Linked DNA regions of Homo sapiens: region 1 is linked to region 2. Evidence: promoter capture Hi-C in 16 types of primary human blood cells and fetal thymus (Javierre and others, 2016). All regions are on one chromosome and are shown on one strand. The core of a region is centred on a gene start or on the middle of the fragment in contact, and the rest is flanking DNA. Distances in the headings are between cores, read along the strand shown. Region 1 overlaps DENND4B (DENN domain containing 4B). Region 2 holds the start of NPR1 (natriuretic peptide receptor 1).

Region 1 (4,357 bases), core at 731-3,230, 260 kb after region 2:
TACACAGATGACATCAGCAGGCGGGTCATGCAGATCAAAGTAGCTGGAGTGGATACCCACAATGAAGGGCACTGGGGCACTCAGCACATCTGCCAGCACCAGCGGGCACAGAGGAATGTAGGGGCACTGCCAGTGCAGTGGGAAGATCATCTGAAGCACCAGGCAGTGAGAACCAGTGAACAGGGGGTTGAGGCAGCAGTGGGAGGCACAGGAGAGAGAAAGAGAGGGCATTGGCCTTGGGGAGTTGGTGCCTGTTGAGAGAGGCTGTTGGAAGTAGGCTCTAGAGAAGAGCTCCTGATGGAAGCTATGTGTTCCTGCAGGCTGTGCCCAGGGAAAGGGGCTGAGGATCCTCCACAAGGAAGGAAAAGGGAAGAGTCCAGGCAGGGATAGGGGCACCAGAAAGAACCATGGTTCTGGGGAAGATGGGCCAGGCGGGGCGGCACTCACCGAGACGAGGGCCTCACAGACGCTGGTGAGCAGGTCTGGCCGCAGCGAGTGGACTAGCAGCTTGTGCTCTGTGAGCACAGCCAGCAGCAGTGTGATAGCCAGCTCAGGGCCCAGGCTCTGCAGCAGCTGCAGGAAGCTGGCACCACTGCAGGCAATGCCGAGGTGGGGAAAGGGTCACCAGGATACCCTGGGGACCCTTCCCCAGATGCCAGGCACAGCCACCACCTGGACCCAGCCTGCATAAACCTCAACAGCTGCACCCACCTGCCCAGCACCTACCATGTCCTTGGTCATTAAAGCTCCCCTCCCCACAATCTGATCACATACCTGAGGGGCAGGGGTGAGGATACAGGCTGACAGAGGAGCAAGTTGTCATAGGGAGACATCTGGAAGGGAAGAAGAGCCACGGCTCAGGGTAATGATGCCAACTCCCCTCCTTCCATCAGCCCGGCCCCAGCCTCAGCTCTCACCTGCACTAGGATGCGGGGTCTCTGTGGGGAAGGGAAGGGAACGTTGTGAATGAAGTGGGAGATGTGCCTGGGGGACAGAGAAACAGGTCAGAGCATACTCCCCCGTCCATCCCTGTCCTCCCTCCACATTTTCTCAGCTCTTTCACTTGTTCTCAAGAACCTTATTCCTTCCTGAACCCCACTTTGAGACCTGTTATCAGCCAACAGAACCTCCATTATGCATATAATTTGTGCAGATCAGAAAAGAAATCCTCCCTGGGCATACACAGCCCTTTGCCAGGACCTAACTAGTAAGTTTAGACTGGATTTCAGGCCCTGCTCCCCTCCTCAGCCCGTGGCGTTTTTACAGTGGATAAACTGTATAACCACACACTGCAGCCCTGTCCCTTACCCTGTGCCCAGCCCTCCCCCCACCCACATCTGAATCTCTCCCATCTCTCCTGGCCCCCTTATCCCTTCCTAACCCCTTCCCAATGGCAGAGGAGCCATGCTCACGCTTCCAAGGGTAGGCGGTGGGGGCCTGAGACGGAGTAGCGGTAAAGGAAGGTGAGGAAGGCGCGGAAGGCAGGGAAGGCAGGCCAGCGGGACAGCACAGCGATGGCACGCCGGCTGCGCACAGCTCTGCCCCCCAGTGCCCGACCCCGCTCCACGGCGCTCAGCAGGCCCAGTGCCCGTGCCTGTCGCTCTGATAGCCTGGCCCTTGGGAACGCCTCGTAGAACTGCAGGGCGGCACCATACACCTGGCAGGGGGCAGAAGGGTAGTCAGGCAGGCCCTGCATAGCCTGGACCCCTTGCCACACTCCACACACCCACCTTATCACCAGCTGCACCCGTGAGCACAAAGGTGGAGAAGACGGGCACGGGGTACTTGGTCTGGGCAGGCCAGCACTCGATAGTGGCCCCCATGGGCAGGCAGAAGACGGGCACTGACTCGGGCAGCGGGAACGCCTCATTGTCCTCCTCCGGGTAGCGGCCCAGCAGCTCTGCACCCCCAGCATAGTTGGGGGTACCCAAAAGGAGCAGGGTCCATCAGACTCCAAGGGAAATGAACCAAGGGATCCCAGAGAAGGCCCGAGTAGCAAAGAGAAAGTAAACTCTGGGGACACTTAAGGTGCCTGCCAAGAGGCACCAGGGCAAAGGGATGTAGGGTCACAGGATTGGAGGGATAAAGGGGCCACTCACCTGCCTCGTACACCAGCGTGTTGGCCTTCGCCAGGCCCACCTTATAGCACAGGTACACTGCTGGGCCCCACTACCCCAGAAATGGCAAGAGACAAGCAGATACATAGCTAACAAAGGTTTCTGGGGTCCACTTTCTCTCTACCACCCCTAAATGTTCTTTTGTCTTTAAAGCTCCCATTAATCCCAGTGCCCCAAGACCAGAGTTACCCCTCTGGACTCACCCCTGTGGTCAGAGCCTTGGTCCTGGGATGCCCTTTGTTCCCAGTGTCCACACCCACTCTTACACCAAGAGGACCAGGTGTCAGCTCTTGGCCCCACTCACCATGCCAGGGTTGAGGTTGCGGGGCAGCCGGCAGTAAGTATGAGGAGTGCCCTCGCCCTTACTGGGCAGCACCAGGCAGAGGTCAGTGATGCCCAGGGCATGCAGCCCTGCCCCCTCTGCTGCCCGCCGGTAAGTGAGGTAGGTGCGGGGGTGCCCGGGGCCTGGAGGGGCCAGGTTTGCTGAGTGGCTGTAGGGTGTCGTGTCAAGCACTTGGAAGCCAGGCTTGGGACGTTCCTTCCCCTCATACAACACCCTTGGCACAGAGAGCAAAGATAGATGTTGAGAGGTCAGGGTAGAGGACAAAGACCCAATCCTGCCAGATCTGCCTATCTAATCCCCTGAACTTGCCTTGTACCCACAGCCTTGTCAAACTCTAACACTAGGGCCCACCTCTTCTTGCTGAACTCTGCCCTCCAGAATCCTGTGCCCTTTCTTTGGCCTTTGGCCTTATTTCATGGTCAGCAACAATCCTGCATGCCTTCTATGGCTCTCATACTCATTAATAAACACTAAGGGTCAGCTGGGCACGGTGGCTCATGCCTATAATCCCAGCACTTTGGGAGGCCAAGGCAGGTGGATCACCTGAGGTCAGGGGTTCAGGACCAGCCTGGCCAACATGGTCAAACCCCATCTCTACTAAAAATTCAAAAATTAGCTGGACGTGGTGGCACATGCCTATAGTCTCAGCTACTCAGGAAGCTGAGGCAGGAGAATTGCCTGAACCCAGGAGGCGAAGGTTGCAGTGAGCCAAGATCACACCACTGCACTCCAGCCTGAGTGACAGAGAGAGACTCTGTCTATAAAAAAAAAAAAAAAAAAAAAAATAGTTATACAAGCTACCACTGACTGACTCTGTTAAGTCTGTCACATGGGTTATCTCATTTAATCTCGACCATCCTATGAGGATGAATTATTTTCCCCATTTGACAGATGAGGAAAACAGGCCCAGAGGAGCTCAAAAACCTGCCTAAGCTCTCAGAGCTAGCAAGGAGCAGCACTAGCACATGAAATCGCATCTGTAAGGACTAAGTACATACAACTTCAGTCCTTCCTTCCTGGCCCCTGGCCCACCAGGCTCCCATCCCCATTGCCCTTCCCTTGTTCCATAGTCCTACCTCTCCCTGTCTCACTGGAGTCCCTCCCAGCCTCCCCTGGTGCCAGCATGGGTAGGGGCACACACCCCAGCTCAACGAGGGGGGGCTTGTCACGGCCCCTGCGGTAGCAGATGACGGGTTGAGTTCCACCCAGAAGTCCAGCACTGAGTTCCAAGGGGTGGCCCCCAGCAGAAGCCTGGATGCATGTGTAGCCCTGGGGCACTTCCTCGCCCAGTGCCCTAGCGATGACTGCCACATCTGTGATGGGCTCAGCTGGCCGGGGAGGGCGCAGGGGCCCACTGGGTTCAGGAACCCACGTTTCCTCAGGGATGGGTGCTCCGTTCCCTGCAAGCCCAGCTACCACGAAGTAATCCACCAGCCGGGGGGGCCGCTCCTCCGCCATGGCCCCCCCCTCACTCACTGCATCTGGAATGGTCAAGTGGGAGAGAGATGAAGCAAGGAAGGCTGGGGATGCCATGGCAACCAGGGTACCCTCTTGCTCCCCTCCTCTTCCTAGTCCTTCCAAAGAAAGGCAGGATAAGGGGTCGGCCAATCCTGAACTCTTCCCCCTGTGACATCACTGCCCACCACAGCTTCTTAAAGAGACCAGATCCCTCCCACTTAATGGTCCTGGCACTCCCCTCAAAGAACCTAAACTCCACCACACACAGCTAACCTGAGCTATGACATTCACATTGTCCATGTGTCCCTTTTAAAGGCTCACCAGTTATAACATCACAGAGATCACAATCTTTTTTGTAATAGCCTTCCATGACATCATTCATGCTGGCCATGACATCATACCAACCTTACAGTCTTTTCAAGGGTTTCTGACCTTCCTA
Region 2 (4,499 bases), core at 1,340-3,839:
TCAAGTGATCAGCCCACTTCCGCCTCCCAAAGTGCTGGGACTACAGGTATGAGACACCATGCCCAGCCAGTTCTTTGATTTTTAAAAAAGTATTTCATCCAACACTTTTAGTTGTCTGTAGCTTTAGGGCTAGTTCACCATTATTGAAAGGAGCTCAATTACTAAACTATATTTCTAGTCCAGTCATTTCTTCTGAGCTCCAGCTCCACTAGTCCGAGGCCTATCAGACACTTCCACTTGATTATCTATAGGCACCTCACATCCAATAAACTAAAAGTATCATCCTTCCAAAACCTTCTTCAGCTTCTCAGCTAATGGGATCAACATCACCTAGATCTGTTATTTGTATAATGTCCTCACTTCCCAAAGTTCAACTGATTCTACTTACAAAACATCTCCCCATCTGCATCTGCTGTCTACCTCTACAATCTCTGGAATCCGCCATCTCCATTACAGGACAAGAACATTATGCCTGTCACACAAAAGCTTTCATAATCTTCCCTCCACTGCCCTCTTCCCTGCCTCTCTTCCTCAGTCATCCTACATGCACACACCTTACATCCTAGATCAGGGCTGAAAACACAAACTCCTACTACAGCCAGGCAGGTAATGCACCTGAGTGAAGCAGGGTGCCTAGGAACCATAATGAACTAGACTCATTTCAAGGAGATAATGGATACTTGCTCTGGTTAATTGCTCATGGAGGGATGCAGGACAATATATTGCCAGCTCTTCCAATATTTTAAGGAAAGTCAGAAATCCAGGTTGGGCCTGGTGGCTCACACATGTTATCCAGGAATTTTGGGAGGCCAATGCAAGAGGATCGCTTGAGCCTAGGAGTTCAAGACCAGCCTGGGCAACATAGGGAGACCTCCATCTTTGAAGGAAAAAAAAAAAAAAGTCAGAAATCCAAATATTCATGTACCATCTTTTTTTTTTTTTTTTTTTTGAGACGGAGTCTTGCTCTGTTGCCCAGGCTGGAGTGCAGTGGCGCAATCTCGGCTCGTTGCAACCTCTGTCTCCCGGATTCAAGCAATTCTCTACCTCAGCCTCCCAAGTAGCTGGGATTACAGGCGGCCGCCACCATGTCTGGCTAATTTTTGTATTTTTAGTAGAGACGGGGTTTCACCATCTTGGCCAGGCTGATCTTGAACTCCTGACCTCATGATCCACCCACCCTGACCTCCCAAAGTGCTGGGATTAGAGGCTTGAGCCACCTTGCCCGGCCCCATCTTATGATATTTAAGTGTGGGGAATTAAATACAATATACATAAAGAGAATGCAAGCCAAAGCATGCCTGCCATCTCAAGTTGGCCTATCGACCACAATTTGCTCTAGATAATAAGAATATTCAAGTCTCCTAAAATTCCATATATAGGAAATGTACTTCAACATTCTGCTCTGTCTACACAGAATACCTTTCTCATCCTTCCATCCTCTTGAATTATTTCTTTTTTGGAGATTTTCTGGCCCCAATCCAAGCAGAATGAATAGCCCTCATCTGAGTCCTTTAGCAATTTATCCATGTCTCCCCTGTAGTGCTTAATGCATGTTGCATTACGGTTATTTGTCCCAAATGGAGCTCCTCAAAGGCACGGACTATATATATTCATCTTTATGCCCTCGGCACCTAGTGGGTGCTTAATGCACCGAAGGTTCTCTGGAAATGTTTGCTGACCTGAAGTTTGGTGATCTTATGTCCTGCTTAGGCGCAGCGTTGGAGAGGTTGGCGCTGCAATGCCGTCAATAACCCCCGATGACCATTAGAGGGCACACTGATTCCACAGCAGTCTGCACCGGGGGCCCAGCTGTCAAGTGCTCCAAAACCCACTCCCCAATTTACGCCTCCAGTGGTCATCTCCCACAGCCTTCATTTTAACAACCCTCAACACAAAACAGTCATTTTCTTGGGGCGTCCCTGAGGTGTGAACCTCCTCCCTCCCAGACACCCACCCACTCTCCCCATCTTCCTACAATTTGGGCGCTAAAGATTTAATTCCTCTCTGACACCAGATCATTTTTTCACAGCTAATCTGCACAGTCTGGAAGGTGGCAGGGAGGGAAAGAGAGGGAGATCATAGAAGGAATGGGTAACAAGCACTCTGGGCTCACCTTCAACTTTAACGGACTTTCCAGAAACCCGTCACCTTCCACCCCACACCCAAACACACACATCCACGCACTCACTCAGTTTCCTGCCAGGATCCCAAACCAGCACACCTTTCCCTCTTCCCCCGAGGAGACCAGGTAGGAGGCGAGGGAAAAGGTGGGGCGCAAGTGGGCCCCGGTTGCTTCCACACACACCCTCCGTTCAGCCGTCCTTTCCATCCCGGCGAGGGCGCACCTTCAGAGGGTCCTGTCCTCCAAAGAGGTAGGCGTGGGGCGGCCGAGACCGGGGAAGATGGTCCACGGGGAAGCGCGCGGGCTGGGCGGCGGGGAGGAAGGAGTTAAAGATCCTGGATTGGCTCTTCTGTCACTGAGTCTGGGAGGGGAAGCGGCTGGGAGGGAGGGTTCGGAGCTTGGCTCGGGTCCTCCACGGTTCCCTCCGGATAGCCGGAGACTTGGGCCGGCCGGACGCCCCTTCTGGCACACTCCCTGGGGCAGGCGCTCACGCACGCTACAAACACACACTCCTCTTTCCTCCCTCGCGCGCCCTCTCTCATCCTTCTTCACGAAGCGCTCACTCGCACCCTTTCTCTCTCTCTCTCTCTCTCTCTAACACGCACGCACACTCCCAGTTGTTCACACTCGGGTCCTCTCCAGCCCGACGTTCTCCTGGCACCCACCTGCTCCGCGGCGCCCTGCGCGCCCCCCTCGGTCGCGCCCCTTGCGCTCTCGGCCCAGACCGTCGCAGCTACAGGGGGCCTCGAGCCCCGGGGTGAGCGTCCCCGTCCCGCTCCTGCTCCTTCCCATAGGGACGCGCCTGATGCCTGGGACCGGCCGCTGAGCCCAAGGGGACCGAGGAGGCCATGGTAGGAGCGCTCGCCTGCTGCGGTGCCCGCTGAGGCCATGCCGGGGCCCCGGCGCCCCGCTGGCTCCCGCCTGCGCCTGCTCCTGCTCCTGCTGCTGCCGCCGCTGCTGCTGCTGCTCCGGGGCAGCCACGCGGGCAACCTGACGGTAGCCGTGGTACTGCCGCTGGCCAATACCTCGTACCCCTGGTCGTGGGCGCGCGTGGGACCCGCCGTGGAGCTGGCCCTGGCCCAGGTGAAGGCGCGCCCCGACTTGCTGCCGGGCTGGACGGTCCGCACGGTGCTGGGCAGCAGCGAAAACGCGCTGGGCGTCTGCTCCGACACCGCAGCGCCCCTGGCCGCGGTGGACCTCAAGTGGGAGCACAACCCCGCTGTGTTCCTGGGCCCCGGCTGCGTGTACGCCGCCGCCCCAGTGGGGCGCTTCACCGCGCACTGGCGGGTCCCGCTGCTGACCGCCGGCGCCCCGGCGCTGGGCTTCGGTGTCAAGGACGAGTATGCGCTGACCACCCGCGCGGGGCCCAGCTACGCCAAGCTGGGGGACTTCGTGGCGGCGCTGCACCGACGGCTGGGCTGGGAGCGCCAAGCGCTCATGCTCTACGCCTACCGGCCGGGTGACGAAGAGCACTGCTTCTTCCTCGTGGAGGGGCTGTTCATGCGGGTCCGCGACCGCCTCAATATTACGGTGGACCACCTGGAGTTCGCCGAGGACGACCTCAGCCACTACACCAGGCTGCTGCGGACCATGCCGCGCAAAGGCCGAGGTGAGACGCTGGCACACCCCGTCCCGCCGCTTAGCCGCAGGGCCTCCCCTCTGACCTGCCGGAGGCATCGGGACTTTCTCTCTCATCTGGGGGCACTCTTCTTTCTCCTCGCCGTTCTTCATTCTACTTTCAGCTCCCTGGCCCTTTCTACAGCTGAGTTTCTATTTCCCTCTCTTCTTCCGCCACCCCCACCACGTCTCTATCCTCTCATCTCCCCGACCCCCACTCATTCCCTCCCACCCTAGCACAGCTCGGTTCCGGTCCCTTTTTCCCTCCCACATTTTCTCTCTTCCCTATAGCCTTCTCCCTTCTTTCATCCTCTCCTCTCATTGCGCCTCATCCCCTCTCTTCTCCCCCTCCCTCTCCCTCCTCTCTCCCTCCTGGCCCCATCCTTCTCCACCTTCAGCTCCACTATCCCCCTCTCCCTACCCGTTCCTTCCTCCCTTCCGCCTCCCCCTTCCTCCTCCCGCCCACCGCCCCGCACCCGCCCGTTCCACCCTTCGACTTTCTCCTGCTGTGGCCTAGGCTGAGCCGGGAGTTACCACTTAACTCTCACTGGGTCTCTCCTGCACCCTATCTCTAAACTTCCTCCCTTGGGTGCCCCAGCTTTCCTACTCCTGTCTCTCCCGCAGTACCTAGGCTTCTCTCTCTGACTCTCCGTCTTTCTCCAGTTATCTACATCTGCAGCTCCCCTGATGCCTTCAGAACCCTCATGCTCCTGGCCCTGGAAGCTGGCTTGTGTGGGGAGGACTACGTTTTCTTCCACCT

Evidence for each region. The method cuts DNA at HindIII sites, captures the fragments that hold promoters and counts their contacts. A CHiCAGO score of 5 or more calls a contact.
Region 1: a contact is called between a fragment that was not itself captured here and the fragment with the promoter of NPR1 in region 2, in 16 of 17 cell types (M2 macrophages, M0 macrophages, endothelial precursors and 13 more). The highest score is 18.1, in M2 macrophages.

Annotation. Positions count from the first base shown.
Region 1 is chr1:153,940,457-153,944,813 of GRCh38, forward strand. DENND4B (DENN domain containing 4B) reads right to left here. Exons shown (of 28, transcript NM_014856.3): 2 at 3,602-3,941; 3 at 2,422-2,674; 4 at 2,100-2,169; 5 at 1,731-1,900; 6 at 1,413-1,657; 7 at 918-984; 8 at 775-833; 9 at 448-592; 10 at 1-150. The coding sequence starts at 3,918. Among named protein-coding and RNA genes, the nearest start is that of DENND4B, 4.1 kb to the right of the region's middle. The HindIII fragment of the contact is 4,975 bases long and covers 1-4,357 here.
Region 2 is chr1:153,676,099-153,680,597 of GRCh38, forward strand. It overlaps NPR1 (natriuretic peptide receptor 1), which reads left to right and starts at 2,590. Exons shown (of 22, transcript NM_000906.4): 1 at 2,590-3,731; 2 at 4,403-4,499. The coding sequence starts at 3,011. RefSeq lists enhancers at 1,827-2,808, 2,809-3,789 and a silencer at 3,331-3,390. The HindIII fragment of the contact is 5,247 bases long and covers 485-4,499 here.